Regions from separate parts of the Homo sapiens genome. Here region 2 is linked to region 1. Evidence: promoter capture Hi-C in human tissues and cell types (Jung and others, 2019). All regions are on one chromosome and are shown on one strand. The core of a region is centred on a gene start or on the middle of the fragment in contact, and the rest is flanking DNA. Distances in the headings are between cores, read along the strand shown. Region 1 holds the start of FXR2 (FMR1 autosomal homolog 2). Region 2 holds the start of ARHGEF15 (Rho guanine nucleotide exchange factor 15).

Evidence for each region. Contacts are between HindIII fragments. The study calls those that stand out against the background at their distance.
Region 2: a contact is called between the fragment with the promoter of ARHGEF15 here and the fragment with the promoter of FXR2 in region 1, in 1 of the 25 tissues and cell types used here (heart left ventricle).

The regions. Positions count from the first base shown.
Region 1 is chr17:7,613,166-7,616,228 of GRCh38, reverse strand. FXR2 (FMR1 autosomal homolog 2) reads left to right here and starts at 1,332. Exons shown (of 17, transcript NM_004860.4): 1 at 1,332-1,777. The coding sequence starts at 1,697. It also overlaps a transcript of SHBG not described here. RefSeq lists silencers at 1,088-1,137, 1,248-1,777. The HindIII fragment of the contact is 5,915 bases long and covers 1-1,452 here.
Region 2 is chr17:8,308,656-8,311,802 of GRCh38, reverse strand. It overlaps ARHGEF15 (Rho guanine nucleotide exchange factor 15), which reads right to left and starts at 1,562. Exons shown (of 16, transcript NM_173728.4): 1 at 1,460-1,562. RefSeq lists an enhancer at 1,068-1,568. The HindIII fragment of the contact is 11,979 bases long and covers 1-3,147 here.

The DNA of each region.
Region 1 (3,063 bases), core at 83-2,582:
AAGCGATTCTCCTGCCTCAGCCTCCTGAGTAGCTGGGACTCCTTCCGAGTAGCTGGAACTACCACGGCTAATTTTTTGTATTTTAGTAGAGACGAGGTTTCACCATGTTGGCCAGAATGGTCTCCATCTCCTGACCTCGTGATCCGCCCGCCCGTGATCTCGGCCTCCCAAAGTGCTGGGATTACAGGCCTGAGCCACCGCGCCCGTCCTAATTTTTGTATTTTTAGTAGAAACAGGGTTTCGCCCTGTTGAGGCTGGTGTCAAACTTTTGGGCTCAAGTGATCCACCGCCTGAGCCTCCTAAAGTGCTGGGATTACAGGAGTGAGCCACAGCGCCCGTCTGAAACTATTCTTAAAGCTTTCTTTCTATTCTTTCTTTCTTTTTTTTTTTTTTTTGAGACTGAGTCTTGCTCTGTCGCCCAGGCTGGAGTGCAATGGTGCGATCTTGGCTCACTGCAACTTCTGCCTCCCAGGTTCAAGGTAGTCTCCTGCCTCAGCCTCCCGAGTATCTGGGATTACAGGCGCGTGTCACCACGCCCGGCTAATTTTTGTATTTTATTAGATGCGGGGTGGGGGGGGGGGTGGGTTTCACCATTTTGGCCACGCTGGTCTCGAACCCCTGACCTCAGGTGATCCGAGGACCTCAGGTGATCCACCTGCCTCGGCCTCCCAGAGCGCTGGGATTACAGGCGTGAGCCACCGCGCCCGGCCAAAACTTTCATTGTATCACAATCTCTTCAAGGTAAGAGCCATGACTGTTAAATCTACTACAGTAGAGAGTTACAGATTCTTAAAATATCGGCGATGCATACGCGAAGAGGGTAAAGCTCAGCGCGTGCGCACCAAGCACCTTTTTCCTTGCGGCGACTCCTCTTCTTTTTTTTTTCTTTTTGGAGCGTGCGCACCAAGAAAGACAAAGGTGGGGAAAGTGACCAAGCAGTCGTTCAGGCGCATGCCCATCCCTAACTTGTCCAAGCCCGGTGGGGCCAGCGGCGGCGGAGTGGGTGTGGCCTGAGCGCTGTGTGACTGTGCGGACGCCGCCCAATCGGACTGAGCGAGCCCGGCCCCTCCCTCCCCCTGATTGGTTGGTTCTCAGTGTTGTGGGGCGGGGAAAGGAAGAGACGGGGTGGCTGGGCGGTGGAGCGGTGAAGAAAGAAGGCTAATCTTGTTCTGCGCAAGCGCTAGCAAGCGACCAGGAGGGGGAGTGAGAGAGTGAAAGGGAATGTGGAAGCCCCGATGCGCTAGCTGGCGCTAGCTGGGGCTCTAACCTTGACGCCTGCGCGGTGGCCCTCGGGGCCCCGCGCGCAGCGGGCGGGTGCCCGGTGCGCCTGCGCAGTAGGCGGCGGTGGCAGGGGGAGGTGGAGGCTGTGGAGCGGCAGCGGCAGCAGCGGGTCCCGGGACTGAGGCAGCAGCGGGGGCGGCGGCGGGCGGAAGCTGAGGTGACGAAGGCAGCGGCGGCGGCGGCCGTTTCCCTCACGGTGGCGGAGACCAAGGCGGCGGCGGCGGACGGGGAGCGGCCCGGCCCCGGCCCCCTGCTCGTTGGCTGTGGCAGGGCCGCCGTGGGGCCGGCCCGGCTCCCGCCCCCCGCGGCTCCCCCTCCGGCTCCTCCTCCGGGGAGACGCCGGGGGCCTGGCCCGGCCCGCACTCAGACTGCTGCTGCAGCCGCCGCCGGGGGAGTCGGAGGCGGTGGCGGCGCCATGGGCGGCCTGGCCTCTGGGGGGGATGTGGAGCCGGGACTGCCCGTCGAGGTGCGCGGCTCCAACGGGGCCTTCTACAAGGTGAGACGGCGCGCCGACTGGGGACGCCGGTCCTTAGCCCCCTCCCCTGGCCGGAGCAGGAACGCGTGGGGCGGGATCGAGCTTCTGGAGCTGAGTCCTGGCCCTTAGAATCTTGGACCCTTGCTCCAACCCGCAGCCTTCCCTGGGAGACCGCTTAGAGTGAACCCTGTTCCTCTTATTTTTGACCCCTCTAAGGCACCTGCACCTGCTTCTACCCCCATCTCCGGGAGAATGAACTTCAGGCCATTATTGTCCCTGGCTTGGCGCTCCCCGCTCCGCAGGAGAGACCCCTTTACCCAGCTTCTAATTGACTGTGTCCGTTGTCTGGTGGAAGACATACCTTAGACCTTAATCACATCTTCCCCACGATCCAAGCACATGGAGAATTGTCTTTCTTCCACACGGTCCCTTTGGGAAGGCCCTCTGTCCCGTAAAAGATCCTTTCATCTTCCTCAGAGAGGCCTCTGCCTACTGGCTCTGGAACACTCACCCCACTTTCATCTTATATTCCGGTTCCCAAGCCAAGGAGAAATGGTCAGATCCATTTACGACGTTTGGCATCTTTGACCTCAGGAACCCTGGGTTGGATCAGTCAAGTTGCTTCCCAGCCAGCCATAAGGTGGCATCTTTCGCAAGTCTCTCTCCCCACCACACCTTGATCTCAAGACCCACTGCTCTACCATTCTACTCAGGAATGGATTTGAGGTCTCACTTAGACCTCAGATACCTTCAGGTCATTCATATAGTTTCTTCGTCTTGAGGCATGTAAGCTTCATAGTCATAATCTCTAAAAGGATCTCTGAAAGGAAGCTTATGAGGTTCCCTTCTGTTTATCTTAAGATTTCCACTTCTTGAAGACTCTTGGCCAACTATCCCAGTTCGGGAATCTGACAACCTTTTTTGGAAGACGGGATCATCTTTCAAAGACCCTTCCTTATTTCACCTCCCCCTTTGCCCAGGATTTGGTTCCTTAGAACTCCTTATAATACCACCTTCCTTATCTGCTCTGAATCTATTTTCTAGGACATTTTTTTCCCATTTAGATTAAGCCAGAGAGAGCCCTTTCTTGCCTCCCAAGAGTTTTTCTTTGTGTGACTGTTGGTATTCTGAACCTCTTGGATTTGATGCCTGGAATTGTCCTAGAGACTCTCCTGATTTCTGTCTCATTCTTTGATTTCACCCTGGGGAGCTGGGGAAGAGATACCTTCCCATGGCATCACTTGTTAAGAGTGGATCCCCCTTCCCCCTTTCCTTCAGTTCCCCTCAGGCCTTTTTCCCCCACTGTA
Region 2 (3,147 bases), core at 313-2,812, 700 kb before region 1:
GTTGTGGAGGTTTGTGTGTGGTTTGTGTAGGGGGTGGCATGGTGTGTTGTGAGTGTGCGAGTTCTGTGCTTGCCGGGTGGGTGTGCAGGGGGAGAGTGGAGCATACGGTGTGTGGTGTGTGGCCCTTTAGGAAGTTCTCGGTGTGAGTGTCTGAGATAGCGGTGCCAGGGTGGGTGTGCCATGTGTGTTCTGCGCTGTCTGGGTCTGGGTGCCGTGGGCGCGCCTGTCCGCCGGGCCTGGGCTGCGAGGCGTGCATCACTGTTTCCCTGCTCCACTGGCCCTCCGCCCCCCATTTCCCAGTTCCTCTCTCCGGACTCTCCCTTTCCGGATTATTTTTAGTCTCCTTTTCCTGCCATCAAGATTCTTGGAGCCTCTGACCCCCGGAGATGAGGAGGTCCTGGCGAGGTCTCTCCTGTCCTGCGTCTGATCATCCCCGCCTGCCCTAGGGTCTGGTCACAGAGAGAGGCCCAGCACAGCCATGGGTCTTGCCAAGAGGCCTGGGGAGGTGGCTGGGAGAATGAACCGAAGGACAGGACCAGTCGGGCCAGGGCGCTGCGGCCTGGGTTTCTCTTCCTCCCTCGAGGAAGGAGGCTACAATCCCAAGAAGGCTGCAGGGTCAGGGCTGGGAAGCAGAGGAACCCCCAAACTCCCTTCAGGGGTCAGCAGGAGAGTCAGACCCCTCCAGGCCTCGGACTGGCTCCTTGAGAAATGATGAGGGGGGAACAAGGGGGTTGTAGATGATGGGTCTTGCAGCTCAGTGGCCTCTGTGTTCTGGCAGAAAGTCATTTAGCAAAGTGACCCACACGGTAGTCTTGACCACTGGCCAACTCCTCCCCAGCCCCTGCCCCTCAGGGATCCCACCCCCTCTCGGGTACCTGCATTTACTTCCTTCCCTACCCCACCCTTAGGAACCCAGGTACTCGGGCCCCAAGCACTCACCCTTGAATCCCCTCCACTCTCAGTCACCTCCCAGGGCTGAGTGAGTAGGGGCAGGAAACAGGAATCAGATCCGCCTCCCAACCGGACACCCCCCCCTCACGAACCACACCACTCTCCACATGCGCACATCACACAGGGCCCCAGGAGACAGAGGTATCCAGGGTCTCAGAGGTTAAAGGGGTCTGGGGAAAAGCTGAAATTCAGGCTTGGAAAGTGTGTGCGCAGGTTCTACCTGCACAGCTGTGTGGATCGGGGCTCATAGGGGTGAGGTGGACAGGGGTAGGGATGAGGACAAGACGGCAATGGCACAGAGCCTGGCTGAGCAGCATGGGTGTCTGGATGCCTCTGTCTCAGCTAAGGGATGCTGCGTGCGTCCCTCCACGGCGAGTCTCACCATCTTTCCCCGACTTGCACCACCACCTGTCTCCTGAGCCGGGTGTGAGCCAACGCCTATTTCACACCCAGGGACCCTCCCGCAGGCTTCCCTCCCTAACTCTGCAGTAGGTCCCCATGAATTTACCTTTATCTTTTTGGAACCAGTTGCTATTTTCAGCCTGTCCTGTCTGCCCCTTGGAGCGAGGAATGCAGGGCTGAGGTTTCCAAGTGTGTGTTCCTGTGATTCTGGGGTGGGAACTCAGGGCCCAGATTGAGATCTCTGCGGAGGAAGCCAGTTCCTCAGCCCCACCCAGCCATTGTGTCTGGCGTGTGTGTGTGTGTGTGTGTGTGTGTGTGTGTGTGTGTGTGTGTTAGAGGAGAGAGAAAAGGGGAGGGCCAGGAGGTAGGACTGAAGAGAGAAGTGTGGACTTGGGGTCTGTCTCCTCCAGGGAGGTATAACATTTGCAGGGGCCCAGGCGTGGTTGCTCATCCTTATAATCCCAGCACTCCAGCACTTTGGGAGGGCAAGGTGGGAGGACCAGCCTCGGCAACATAGTGTGACCCTGTCTCTACAAAAGATTTTTAAAAAATTAGCCGTGGACAGGCCGGGCGAGGTGGCTCACATCTGTAATCCCAGCACTTAGGGGGGCCGAGGCAGGCGGATCACCTGAGGTCAGGAGTTCGAGACCAGCCTGACTAACATAGTGAAACCCCGTTTCTATTAAAAATACAAAAAATTAGCCAAGCATGGTGGCACACGCCTGTAATCCCAGCTAGTCGGGAGGCTGAGGCAGGAGAATTGCTTGAACCCAGGAGGCAGAGGTTGCAGTGAGCCGAGATCGCGCCATTGCACTTCAGCTTGGCCAACAAGAGCGAAATTCCATCTCAAAAGAAAAAAAAAAGCCATAATGGCACACATCTGTGGTCCCAGCTACTCAGGAGGCTGAGGTGGGAAGATTACTTGAGCCCAGGAGTTGGACACTACAGTGAGCCGTGATCGCACCACTGCCCTCCAGCCTGGGCAACAGAGCAATATGCTGTCTGAAAACAATAAAAAATGTGCAGAGGTCGGGCGCAGTGGCTCATGCCTGTAATCCCAGCACTTTGGGAGGCCGAGGCAGGAGGATCACCTGAGGTCAGGAGTTTGAGACCAGCCTGGCCAACATGGTGAAACCCTGTCTCTACTAAAAATACAAAAAAATTAGCCGGGTGTGGTGGCGCACGCCTGTACTACCACCTACTCGGGAGGGTGAAGCAGGAGAATCACTTGAACCCAGGAGGTGGAGGTTGCAATGAGCCAAGATCCTGCCACTGCACTCCAGCCTAGGCAACAGAGCAAGACTCCATCTCAAAAAAAATAAAAATAAAAAATGTCCCAGGAGCCGTGGCTCACGCCTATAATCCTAGCAGATTGGGAGGCCAAGGAGGGTGGATCATCTGAGGCCAGAAGTTTGAGACCAGCCTGGCCAACATGGTGAAACCCCATCTCTACTAAAAAAAAAAAATACAAAAATTAGCTGGGCATGGTGGCGGGCACCTGTAATCCCAGCTGCTCTGGAGGCTGAGGAGAGAGAATCACTTGAACCCAGGAGGTGGCAGTTGCAGTGAGCTGAGATCGTGCCATTGCACTCCAGCCTGGGCAACAAGAGTGAAACTCCATCTCAAAAAAAAAAAAAAAATTAGCCGGGCATGGTGGCACTCGCCTGTAATCCCAGCTACTCAGGAGTCTGAGGCACAAGAATCACTTGAGCCCAGGAGGCGGAGGTTGCAGTGAGCTGAGATCGTGCCATTGCACTCCAGCCTGGGCAACAAGAGTGAAACTCCATCTCAAAA